Regions from separate parts of the Homo sapiens genome. Here regions 2, 3 and 4 are each linked to region 1. The links are contacts of gene promoters, found by promoter capture Hi-C in blood cells and fetal thymus (Javierre and others, 2016). All regions are on one chromosome and are shown on one strand. Each heading gives the region's core, a stretch centred on a gene start or on the middle of the fragment in contact. The rest is flanking DNA. Distances are from core to core; before and after follow the strand shown.

Region 1 (3,459 bases), core at 781-3,280:
CTTACTCATAGGTGGAATCTAATAGTTCATCGCACAGAGAGTACAATGGTGTTTACCAGAGGCCAGGATGGTTGGCAGGGGGGATGGGGAGAATTTGGTCAAAGATACATAATATCAGTTAGATAGGAGGAATAAATTTCAAGAAATCTATTATATAACATGAATTTATAGCAAGCTGACTATAGTTAATAATCATATATTGTATTCTTTAAAAAAATGTAAACAGTGTAGATGTTATGTACTCTTACCACAAAAATGATAACTATGTGAGGTAATGCATTGCTAATTAGCTAGATTTAACGATTCCGGAATGTACATACACTTCATAGCATCATGAGGTACACAAAACAATGCCATCTGTCAAAAAATAATAATTATATGTAGCATTTCAAAAAGTTCACAGCATCAAAAATATTTGTAGGGGTGGGGGGACAGAGAGCATCAGGAAGAATAGCTAATGGATGCTGGGCTTAATACCGAGGTGGTGGGTTGATCTGTGCAGCAAACCACCACAGCACACGTTTACCTATGTAACAAACCTGCACATGAAGCCCAGAACCTAAAACAAAAGTTGAAGAAAAAAAAAATTCAAGACGTTTCTATCTGATATTGGACTGCTTTGTCACTTTTTCTTTTGGTCTTCCTAGTGCTTATTTACTACAGGATAAAATTAGCACATGCTATTTAATGTGTTCATTTTAAGTACTATGTTGTTTTCTATGTGTTAATTTTATCTCCTCCAGGTGAGACCATTTTTATTACCATAGGTCTAAAATGACAAGATTAAGTCCAAACAGACAGTAATCACTCAACAGCTATTTATTGAGTAACTTAAAGATTCAATATGAAAGCAACCTTGATCAAAGCTTTCCAGTTGATATATTGTGAAACAGGGTTTTTTCCTAAACATGATTCTAAAAAACAAGCAAACAAACAAAAATCCTCCCCAAATGAAAAACTCCAGTCACTATTTAGCAATACTAATTTCAATTTATCAAACAGAATCAGCCCAAAAATTTCAACAGGTCAGTGAGATTTAAAACAATTCGATGGCAAGAATTTCAATGAGGTTTGGCTCTAATTAAAAGGTATCACAGATCACTGTCAAAGTCAATAACTCAGTAGTGCGGTAATGATTTGGGAGTCCTTTTCAATTTAGACATTTGTCAATCATGATTGCCTTTAAACATCAGTTACCCACTGTCCCTGCTCAGTTTTGAAAAAAAAATTAAATACAAAAATACAACTCAAAATACATGTTTTTTCCACACATAAAATTGGTATTTTAGTAATAAACTCTCGATTCAGGGTTCATAAAATAAAGTAGGTATACTTCTAATTCTTCCTAGCAGTTTTTTGGGGGAAAGAAACCCTAAGTATTTTCTGTTATTTGCAGCTGCTTTAACAGCAAACGACAATTAAATGTGTGAACAAGGTTGTCAGAGTAACACTTGTCATTTACACCGCTTAGGAAAGACATCCAAGACTTCCAGAAACACTAATTAAAATTAACAAAAGCTTCTTATCGGAACTTGTCAGAGAGCTATAGTTTGTCAGACACAGGAAAACCAGATAGCCTCAAAGTTCAAGAGTTTTCGCTCTAAGGTTTAATTCCAAACCACCTACCACTAGGCACTAACGAACTAAGCCCAGACGCTCAGCAACCAACTCATTAAGGTAAGAGATCCCATCCTTTCCATATAACACAAAATTAAGAAAAAGACATCGTGGGGAAGGCGGAGTGAATTTTCTATCAGAAATCAGAAGATAAATGAGCAGGAAAAAAGTCTATCCTCACACACAGCGGAGAAAGGTGCTAGCAATTGCTTGATAAGCCCTAAGGGTTTATTGTTTCACCAACCTTTTCTTTAACTCAATGTGAATGAAGGCACTCAAAAGGAGAAGAACGTTACGTGATATTACCTACCTCGGGCCCCAAAGAACCCTGGAGACCCTCAACCAGGACACAGGTGGGCCTTTCTCACCTGGGCCCCGCCGAAGTCGACCGTCCTTTCGTAGGGCGCACTTTTCAGCAATACGCCTTCCGATTGGTTGGCTCGGGACTGACGTCTCAGTCCTATTGGTTACGAGAGCCGCGGTTGGGGCGAGGAGGCGGGAGTTTGGCACTGGTTCTGATAGGACGGGTGTTTGCGTTCCCAGAGTTCCTATTGGGTTAACACTGGAGGCTCTAAGATGGCGGCAGTGGCAACCTGCGGTAGTGTTGCCGCGAGTACTGGGTCTGCAGTGGCGACAGCCAGCAAGAGCAACGTCACCAGTTTCCAGAGGAGGGGTCCTAGAGCCAGCGTGACCAACGACAGCGGCCCTCGACTGGTGTCCATTGCGGGCACGCGACCGTCGGTGCGGAATGGACAGCTGCTGGTATCAACCGGGCTCCCAGCCCTAGACCAGCTCTTAGGTCGGTTCAGAGCGGAGATCTGGGCTCAGCCGAGGGGAAACTTAGGGAGGGGACCTGTCGGGGAAGCCACTTTGACCCCACATCTCTTTCTGACCCCTAAACCTTCGGAGGAGGAGAGAATAGCCTGGTCTGATTGAGATGGAGGGGAATACGGGTTGTGTGGAGACTTCTGAGCGCTGTTAACTAAACATGTTTTAGTGCCCTCGCTCTCTATTTCATTCCCTGCCCTCCAACCCCTTTTCATATTACGGAGGAATTCGTACATGCTTTTTACCCTGAAATGCTTTCTAGTCAAGGGAAGACATTAATTTATGGAGATGGTTTGGCTTTCATTCAGGATACCTCCCTTCTGCTTTCTCCAGGCAGCTCACGGTTTAGACCAGCCTGCAAAAGTTTTTATAATTGTGAGAGACAGACTTCATTAGAAGATGCTGGAAAAAAATGATTTCCCCTCTTTGACCGTCAGACTGCCTGTTCTCTGGTTCTAAATCTTAAAACATTTTGGCTTTAAGAGAGCGAATGTTAAAGGCTTATGTTGACACATAATCCTTATAAAGTATTTTGAGCCTGTCGTTGATATTTAGATAGTGTCTGCGTTAAATCTGTGTATATATTTTTTATTTTTTCTATATACATTTTGCTTCCCAGTATTGATTGCTGCTACATTCCATACGACATCTTTAAATTTAACTCACATTTTAACGAGAAAAGTCTAGTTCTTAGGCTTTCCTTTAAAATCTCTGGAATTTTTTATGAGAAGCCTGCTGAAGAATATGCTTGTTTCATAACTGTTATATTCAAAGGAATGACCAGATTAAGTTGGTAGGACAGATTTGCTGTGTTAATAAAGCTTCTAGATTAATTTCTGAATGCTGTTTCATTAAAACCCCGTCTGTGTTTACATAACTTTTTTCATAGTGTGTGATATGTGTCTGTTAAATCTTGTACACTTTCATAAAATATAACTCATTGCTTGTTCTTGTACTTCGTTTGACATTTCTTTCGGTTATTTTCCCCTCAAAGTAGGCTTTTCATAGGTTTAG
Region 2 (3,078 bases), core at 284-2,783, 3.4 Mb before region 1:
TTTTTATCTAAATCAGTTATTTTTATATCTTTCTTCTTTTTCCAACATACTGCTTAGTGGTTAAGAGCAAAGATTCTGGAACTGGACTGCCTAGGTTCTAAGCTCTTGTCTAGGAAACATGTGCATGTGTGCACACACCCAGCTTTTCTTTTTTCTGAAACTTTTTCATGTTGGATCAGGCAGTTTTCATGAACTAAATTTAAGCTATATGTATAAGGTGTACTACAATGGCTAGATGTTGCTCATACAAAAGCCATCAGTGATACGATGTGGGTTCTTCATAAAAATATTATTTACCTTCTCCTCAGGCAGTATACACAGGCAAGTTTACACACAAAATAAATCCAGCATTCTTTAAAAAATTTTTTTTTAAATTTTAATTGTTCTAGAGAGAGTCTGTCTCTGTTGTTGAGGCTGAAGTATGGTGATGTGATCATAACTCACTGTAGTCTGGAACTCCTGGGCTCAGGTGATCCTTCCTGTCTCAGCTTCCTGAGTAGCTGGTCCTATGGGTGTGAGCTGCTGCACCCAGATAAACCCAGTATTCTTAAATGAATTTACGTGTATAAAGTATTTAGCTCAATGCTGTCATGTAGTGGGACTCCAAATATACATGAAAATGTAAATTAAAATATTAAATTGGATAAAACTTCTTGTTGAATGTGAGTGACTTCATCAAAATGAAATTCTCTTCGTGCTTTAAAAAGATCCATAATGCAGGGGTAACAATTAAAATCCATACATAAGTGTGAGTTTTAAAAAATGTATATTGAAATATATGTGATATTTGTTAGTGTGTGTATATATACATACATATATACACCTATATATGTATGTGTGTGTGTGTGTGTGTGTGTGTATATATATATATATATATATATATATATATATATATATATGAAAGGATAGGGGCAGTTAGTAAAAATTGGAACCAAATTCAGTGGCTTGAACTTGACTTCTGAAACTAAAAACCGAAGCACATTGTATTAGTTTATTAAACCCTAGTAACAAAGCCAAATGCTTATGTTGCACTAAGCCATGGAGTAGAAAAACAAACAAAAACAAATTGCACTACATCTTCTAGCAAATCAGTATTGTATCCAACTATTTTCTAAAACCAAGTGGAATAAAATTAGATAATTCTACAACTTGACCTACACTGCTGTTTCATTCTGTTCAAGTACCTACAAATGTAATGTTGGTTTATTTTGGCATTTTCCTTTTTCTGATTTGAGTTGGGTTTTCCAGTAACTTTTTATAAGAAGTTTAATGTTTCCAATGTTACTTCTAAAAACTTTCTTGTGAGGTACACTTAGAGACAATGTTATTTCTTACCTTTTCTGCTGTCTGGCAGACAGCTTTATTCACTATTCCCTTAATCTTCAAGTAATAAAGAACTGGTGACAGTCCTTGGACAGGAAAGGTCTTCATTTTGTCCATAATCCATTATTTGCTTCTCTTCTTCCTGAGCCTTTTCCCCAAAATCATTTTCCTTTTCAAACTATGAGTCATACACTCACTTGCATCAGTCACTTACTTACTTACTATTACCTTTTTCTGCATCACCTTCAATGATGAATTTACAGATGAAACTTTTTTTTGTTTTTTTGTTTTTTTTTGAGACGGAGTTTCGCTCTGTCGTCCAGGCTGGAGTACAGTGGCACAATCTCAGCTTACTGCAAGCTCCACCTCGCAGGTTCACTCCATTCTCCAGATGAAACTTTTGATGTAACAGGAACTTTAAAAAATATCTGAATGTATTTGAAGTGAGGTGCAAGGCATTTTATAGTTCTTTTTTCTTTAATACTTGAAAGGTGCTCACCTAAAGAAAATAGTGATTTTGGGAATTTCTTTAGCATCATAGCTAGTTTACTACCTATGTAGTTTACTACAGATTTGTTTTTCAAATACACTTAAAATATTTACTAGTTTTAATTATGAGAAAAATATCCTCTTTCTCTTGGAAGGTATTTAAAATTTTAATTGTTAAGGAGAAATTAAAGAAATTATAATTATTTCTCCCTGCTTAGTTTGCATCATTTCATATTCTAGGTGAATAACTTTTTGTGAAAATGTATTATCCTAAGAACTTTTTTTTTTCTCCTGGAGATATTTTAGTCTGGGCTAATAGATTAACTTTTTATTCTTGATTTCTGAAAACTGGAGAAAAAAAAGTTTGGTTATTTTCTAAATAGCTAAATTCTGCTTAGTTTAAGATGGTAGCAGTTTGGAGAGTATAGGAAACCTGATACTCTTGCCCCAGTAGTAGTGCTAATTTAGCTTGGTGCCTTGGGGCTTCTTTGAGTGTTATTATAAGGGTACAAGTACCCCACTAGTACAAGTAGCTGTGCAGTTTGGTCAATTAACTTTCCATGGTTGTGCCTCAGATTCCTTATCTGTAAAATAAGGAAAGAGAACCTATCTCACTCCTGGTTACTGTAAGGATTAGATGAGTTAATATACATAAATTGTTTAGAATTGTATCTTCCAAGTAGTTGAGCCCAATAAACATTAGCTGTTACTATGGGAATAGAAAGAGTCAAAGTTGTTAGCTAGATTAAAAAAGAAATTCAGGAGAAAAATGCAAGGGGAGAGCAAAGGTGGAACCAACCTGTCTGGAACTGAAAAAGTACTGTTTCCTCTTTCTGGAACTCTCCTCATCTTCATCCTTCAGGCCTGGAGTCAGGTTTTACCTTTTTATGGGAACTTTTCATGAGCCTCCACAGAAGACAGGTATCCCAATTATATATCATGTACTTTTCTTCATAGCAACTTAATAAGTCATAATTATAATTATGATGAGATTATTTGTTCAATATACACCTCTCTTAGTAGATTGCCCTCCATGAAGCCATGGACATATTTGTCTTGCTTACCATTATATCTCTAGTGCTTAGCACAAGGCCTGCCACATGGTAGTTTTGTAATGATGTTTTAAGTGAATGAATAAAAGTCAAAGTAAACTAGAAGACAGATGTGAGGCACCAATAAGAGGAATGTCCCTTGGGTACTGAGGTAGCTTCTCTGGCTCAAGACTTTTATATAATTTCAGCGTCAGTATGGCAGGCCAGGTCTGAT
Region 3 (3,360 bases), core at 576-3,075, 4.1 Mb before region 1:
TGGCTACCTTACAGGCAGAATTGCATGAAACTATCCATGCTAAAGCACTTAATATAGTTCCAGGCACTCAGTAAGTACTTAGTAAGTCATTTATGACGAACTCCTACTGTCCCTTCAAAATTCAACTCCAGCACTGCCTGGAGCCACAACTCTTGGGCTTCCTGTCACTTGCTCATCTCTGCCACAGGTCATGAGTTCCTTAAAGAAAATATATCTCAACTCATTTTTTTATTTCAAGAGCCTGGCTTAGGGTCTAGAATATAGTAGGGTCCTAGGAAACAGTTGTTGAAAGACAATCAGATCAGTGGGCTTTTCTTTTAAGAAATGACACTTTGAATATTAAATTTCCTTCCTTAATATTTATAACAAATGTGTTCAAAATGTGTGGCGCACACACTACAGCTCTACTTATAATCAAGAAAGGCTTGACAAGTGGCCATTTGTGAACAAGATATTTATTACAGCATGGTTTTCCTAATGGATAGTGGTAGAAAAACCAGGATAAAGCTGAATAAACAGCAGGCCCAGAGCACATTGTAAAATATTCCAGGAAAACGCTTCTCATTATCTTGTCTGAAGCTAACTTTGAGCTTAATCTCAGTTCTGACCAATACCCTTGAAGGTCAATGCATCCTCTAAACATGGCACTATTTATACCAAAAATACCTTGAGGTAATATCCATTATGTGCAGCTGATGCCTGAGCCTAGCTCAAAGAAGCCTTACCCGATTCGTTTTGCCAGTCAGATCAATATGGCAGGTGAGGCATGGAGAAAAGGCATAAAATCCCACACAGCTCTAGGTTGCTCTCTGCTTCACACAGAATACTCAAAACCCAGAACAATGAAAGGGCTGACTCAGGTTGCCTGCTCTCTTCATCCTGTCACCCCCAAGCTGTCCAGGGCACCAAAGAGAGGTCAGCAGTTTGACCTCAAAAGCCAGATTGTGGACTCCAGAACTCTTATCCCAAACCTGAACACCAGAACGTGGTTTACTGCACCTTAGTAGTACCTGTGGTTGGTTATTCTGAAAACATACTGATTGCTAGTGAAGTAGGTTGTAGTAAACAGGTCACTTTTTATAACACAAAGTGCTGAAGCACAGAGATTAGCAATGTCAACCTCAGCATGTGGAGACATGGTTAGATAGGATCTGAGCATGCACAGAGGAATGGATGTCATTGTATCAAAGAATGTTAGGACCAATGGAGAGAAAGAATGAGGAAATTTTCTAAAAATCTACCTTTCCTGAAAGGAAGTGCTAAGTTTCTGAAGCATTTGACAATAATCACTGCATGTATCTGTTCTTTAGGAAGTGGGAAATGGACATGCAGTCAGCAAACGTTTATTGAGCACCTAATAAGCATCTGACACTTGCCACACACAATGCTTGACAACTTCAGCATTCTCTTTTCAAACCCACGTCCCAGCTACTCCTTTGATTCATAGGGACTGAAATGTGATAAGGAAGGCAGCCTTAGCCCTGTGGTGCTACCAGCTCATTCTGGCTTTGGATAAGTGAGACGTACATACGTTCACCTCCTCCCCTGGCAGGCTCCACTTAGTCAGGGCTTTGGCTCTTGGAAACTAATGCAAGGTTTCAGTAGCTGAGCTATAGTTCCGATGGTCATTTATTCCGCAGGTCACTAACTTGTGTCCAGATTGCTTAGTCCAGTTGATTATGCTCAGAAAGTATTTCCTAAAGCCTTCAAATTTACTTTAAATACCTTTGAGACCAACTCAGTCCTGAAGAATACCTACAAAGGCCCAGATGAAAACAATTTACTGAAACCCTAACTCTACCATTAAATTTTACTATCAGGTTGATCAGAGGAGGCCTGTTTCTTGTTGCTACAACCAGCCTGGATGAGTGGCTTGCTTGGTTACTCTTTCTGATCTCCATTCCCACCAATGTACTTACTTTTACTTCTCATTCGTAACTAATTCACTCCTGTAACCATGTATACGGGTTACTTCATATGGGTTCCATATTCCATTCACTCATGCTGGATATGAACACCCTGTACTGAAGGGGGAATCTTGCTATTTACACATAAAGCATGAGTTCTCTGGCCTGTATTTCTTAGAGCTCCTGTACTGTGCCTTACACAGCTTGACAATCATAAACTTGTAAATGATTTCCGAAGAAAACGTAATGAGTCTATCCCAGAATAGACCTGCATTACTGGGCCTGTCTCAGAAATATTCCTTCAGGGATTGGCCCTTTGCTCCTACTTCTGTATACCCAATACTAGGCATGCAGTTTAGGAAAGAGAACATGATCTGTCTATCTTCGTAGTAGACCCAGGTCTGCTAATAACTAGGTGCATGCCTTTGAGTCACTTTTTGCATTCTGAGCCATGGTTTTATTATCTGTAAAATAAGTGGATTGATTTAGGCTTCAATTCATGAGAGTAGAGACCAGTATCTTGTTTACGGTCCCCAGTACGTAGACTAATATGTGGCAAACAATGTTTGCTGAGTGAGTAACAGTAGAAATAAACAAATTAAGACAGTTTTAATAACCCCATTGGTCCTAACATTGATACAATGACATCCATTCCTCTGTGCATGCTCAGATCCTCTCTAACCACGTCTCCACATGCTGAGGTTGACATTGCTAATCTCTGTGCTTCAGCACTTTATGTTATAAAAAGTGACCTGTTTACTACAACCTACTTCACTAGCAATCAGTATGTTTTCAGAATAACCAACCACAGGTACTACTAAGGTGCAGTAAACCACGTTCTGGTGTTCAGGTTTGGGATAAGAGTTCTGCAGTGCACAATCTGGCTTTTGAGGATTCATAGAACGCCTGAAATGGTAGCAGAGTTTTGTGTGTTTGAGACTATGTACATTTTTCTGGGAAGTGAGACTGCAGCAATCATAATATCTCAGGAAAAAAGGATTAAGAGCCATAGGAAATCTATGGTCATTTGCAAGAATTTGCACAGGGCTCTTTATGTGCAAAAAAAACCACGGCACCTCAGTCTGCAAGTGCCTGCTCTGCCTTTGGGGCGGAGGGCAGGAGGATGTTAGAAGGGGGTACTTAAGAGGGTCTAAGGAATCTTGAAAAGGGCTGAATCGGCCGGGCGGCCTCGGGTTTACCTGGCGCACCCCTGTAACTCCATTCCTCTCAGGCTCGCCACTTTGGCCTCTGAATCATGGGCATCTTCATCCACGTCTTCCTCATCATCCACGTCTTCCTCATCCTCCCCGTCACCGTCGTCCTCGTCAAACTGGAAGCTCTGGTGGCCAAGGGGAGACAACAGCGACCTGGTGGAATTGCTGCAGCTCAGCGGCAGCGGCGGCGACGGCGAGCGCACCACCTCCAGCCCCTGCCCACGTGCGCCCGTCATAGG
Region 4 (3,125 bases), core at 525-3,024, 3.4 Mb before region 1:
TATTTTTATAAATTCAATCTGTCTGCTAAACCAAATGTTAACAAACCACAAAAATACTTTTCAGTAGGATGAATTAAGATGGTGTATATTTTACTTTGTTCTATTTTATGTAAGCTGGTATATAAGGAAGGTTTAAAATGGCTTATTCTTAAGCTTATTCTTAAGCTGTCTTAAAGACAGGGTAAGAATATAAAGAAAGCCAAAAAGAAACCAAAAATTCAATAGTAGTTTGATAGAGAGTCTACTTTTTTTCTTAGAGTTAAGAAGATTTCAAAATCTCTAGAGACATATGAAGTTTCATGAAAGAGGAAAAGAATATCTTCTTAAAAATGGGAATCACAGTAGTACCAATCAATAAACCACACTCCATCCTTACTTGATCAAGAGGGTATGTCTTCCATGATAAAACTGAAATGAATCAGGAAAAGACAGTGAAACATGTTATAGTTGTGAGCTGTCTTGGGGAAAATATCATAAATACTAATAATTACAAAAATAAGATATTAATAATGGTGTTTAGTGCCTGGTAGGCACTGAAAAACTGGCCATTTTGCATCTTGGGTATCTCTCTCTCTCTCTCTCTTTTTTTTTTTTTAAAAAGGAAATCAACATGGCTTTCTTGAAAGGCCAAAAAAAGCACTAAAGATGCTTCTTGGGCTAACAATGAGCTAAAGGGCATGAGATAATTAACATGGGATCTTAACACTTTTACCCCCTTTCCAATTTTTATTTTAGGTTTGGGGGTACAGTGCAGGTTTGTTACATGGGTAAATTGCATGCTGCGGGGTTTAGTGTACAGATTTTTTCATCACTCAGGTAAGGAGTGTAGTACCCCATAGGTAGTTTTTTGATCCTCAGTCTCCTCCTATCCTTCGCCAACTTAAACATTTTTATTTCAATGTGCCATGAAGAAAAACTGCTGAAAAGAAACTGTCAAATGTTCAGAAATGTCTGACTACTCTCCAGGAATAGATAATTACATAGGTAAGCTGTAGGAAAAGTTATAAATACAGGTTATGAGAAAACTGATGTTAATTGCAATAAGCATGTGGTTTAATAACATAGGCAACTGAAAGGACAGATGTCTATAGGGGCCACAGTAAGGCCCTGGAAGAGAAAGGTTTACAAATGATGTATAAGTTATATATGATAACTAAAATTTCAAAGTCTATATTTACAGTTCAAGTCTATTGAATTTCTTAAGAATTTTTAGCATACAAGCTCCTTAAATTTGATTATATTTAGAAGGGTCAAGTAGATGTCCGTCCTAATGCAAAAGTGAAATCGGATAGAGAAATTAAATCCCAAATTGAAACAAATACCTGTGCAATTATATCCATTCAAAAAACTACGAAGAATTGGCTTAGTAGTGTGTTCAAAAACTTCTGACTGAGTTGACGTTTCATCAAAAACAGCATCAAATACAAATTTAAGATCCTTATTTTGTTTCTTTATAACATTTTGATTTGTAGTTTTCTTTCCATGGAAAAAACTGACTTCTTCTTGTTTGGGATCAAAAACTAGGATATGTTTATCCACAACATGAACCACTTTATGAAATCCAGCTGCTTTTTCTTTAGTGTTTTCCGGACGTACACGAACTACTACTTTCATATGGTGGCACAGGTCTTCCTCAGTGACAGACATTGTTGATTATCTTGATTCCTATCTGTATAAATACTTGAATACTTCTCTGAAATTAAAAAAGAAAATAAAGTTTTAATATCAGTTTTTACTTTCATGCAAAACAACTGGCATGTAGTATTCATTCAAAAAAGATGTTAATAATTCTGTTTCACTCACTAGGTAAACACTGGGGGAAAAATACATACATACGTAGGCACACACAACACACACACACAAATATATGCACACATACACACATATGCACTTAAGTACCCTAAAACAAACAATTAAATGGCACATACGTACACACAACTACGATAAAAATCTCTTTACCTGAAATATTAGTAGGATATTTGGCTTAAACTCAAATACTATAGCTGAACCATATATAATCACAGATATGCTATCCTAAAACCCAGATTTGATTTTCACAAGCCCTCCAGCACTATTTCAGCTTAGGTCATGGGAATGAATAGAAAAGGATCTCCCAGAACCATATCAAGGTATGATTGGAGAGCCTTAGCTTGTGAACTATTTTTAGTAAAAGTGATCTTGGCTGCAAGCCCCTTGGCCGTGGAAAGTGATACACCCAGGCTGGTCTCTACCTGTATCTCAGAAGCCCATAGGGTTAAAAATAGTTCCAAGGATGCATTCAACTAGATAGCTCAGGTCTGAAGGTGATAGAGATGGCATAGACTCCTTGGTGTATTCAGAGACCTAGTCTCTGAATATTGATCCTACTCTCTGCTTTCTAATTGTGTGCAAGTTTAAGGAATCAATGATAGCAGGTTTAAAAATTATGGTCTGATTTTATGACTGGTTCACATGCAAAGAAGAAAAGTAAAGTAACAAAGATCAATAATTTGGAAGTCTCAACTATCCAGAAAATACTCTAGAATCTGCAGACCCAAAAACCAAAACAAAAAAACAAACAACAACAACAACAAAAAGACAAAAAAAAACCAAACCACAAAACAAAATAAAACACCCCAAAACAACAAGATCTGAGTAAGGACCAAAAGGTGAGACTTAGGACGATCCTGCAATCCCACTTCTGAGTATATATCCAAAGGAATTAAAATCAGTATGTTGAAGAGATATTTGCCCTGCCATGTTCGCTACAACATTATTCACAATAACTAAGATATATAAACAATCTAAGTGCCTATCAACAGATAAATAGATCGAAAAAATGTGGTATATGCACTCAATGAAATACTATTCAGCCTTAAAAAAGACTAAAATTCTGTCATTTATGACGACATGAATGAATCTAGGGGGCATTATGCTAAGTAAAATAAGCCAGGTACAAAAAGACAAATATCACATGATCTCACTTTTATGCAGAATCTAAAAATATGAACACAGAGAAGTAGAGTAATGGTTACCAGAGGCTGAGGAGGGTGGGGTGGGTGGTAAAAGGGGAAATGTTGGTCAAAGGGTACAAAGTTTCAGTTATACAAGAGGAATAGTTTTGGTGATCTATTGCACAGCAAGGT

What was found. The method cuts DNA at HindIII sites, captures the fragments that hold promoters and counts their contacts. A CHiCAGO score of 5 or more calls a contact.
Region 2: a contact is called between a fragment that was not itself captured here and the fragment with the promoter of IMMP1L in region 1, in 1 of 17 cell types (total B cells). The highest score is 6.6, in total B cells.
Region 3: a contact is called between a fragment that was not itself captured here and the fragment with the promoter of IMMP1L in region 1, in 1 of 17 cell types (fetal thymus). The highest score is 5.0, in fetal thymus.
Region 4: a fragment that was not itself captured here is called in contact with the fragment with the promoter of IMMP1L in region 1 in 3 of 17 cell types (non-activated CD4 T cells, total CD4 T cells and naive B cells); the score reaches 8.1 in non-activated CD4 T cells.

What each region holds. Positions count from the first base shown.
Region 1 is chr11:31,507,592-31,511,050 of GRCh38, forward strand. It overlaps IMMP1L (inner mitochondrial membrane peptidase subunit 1), which reads right to left and starts at 2,031. Exons shown (of 6, transcript NM_001304274.2): 1 at 1,928-2,031. ELP4 (elongator acetyltransferase complex subunit 4) reads left to right here and starts at 2,176. Exons shown (of 10, transcript NM_019040.5): 1 at 2,176-2,416. The coding sequence starts at 2,194. RefSeq lists enhancers at 2,169-3,058, 2,191-2,480. The HindIII fragment of the contact is 1,748 bases long and covers 1,517-3,264 here.
Region 2 is chr11:28,116,402-28,119,479 of GRCh38, forward strand. The region is part of intron 3 of METTL15 (methyltransferase 15, mitochondrial 12S rRNA N4-cytidine); the gene reads left to right. Among named protein-coding and RNA genes, the nearest start is that of METTL15, 9.6 kb to the left of the region's middle. The HindIII fragment of the contact is 7,760 bases long and covers 1-3,078 here.
Region 3 is chr11:27,359,730-27,363,089 of GRCh38, forward strand. It overlaps CCDC34 (coiled-coil domain containing 34), which reads right to left. Exons shown (of 6, transcript NM_030771.2): 1 at 3,107-3,360. Among named protein-coding and RNA genes, the nearest start is that of CCDC34, 1.8 kb to the right of the region's middle. RefSeq lists a silencer at 1,293-1,587 and an enhancer at 2,880-3,360. The HindIII fragment of the contact is 3,738 bases long and covers 1-3,360 here.
Region 4 is chr11:28,096,301-28,099,425 of GRCh38, forward strand. It overlaps KIF18A (kinesin family member 18A), which reads right to left. Exons shown (of 17, transcript NM_031217.4): 2 at 1,323-1,693. The coding sequence starts at 1,647. Among named protein-coding and RNA genes, the nearest start is that of KIF18A, 10 kb to the right of the region's middle. The HindIII fragment of the contact is 3,247 bases long and covers 152-3,125 here.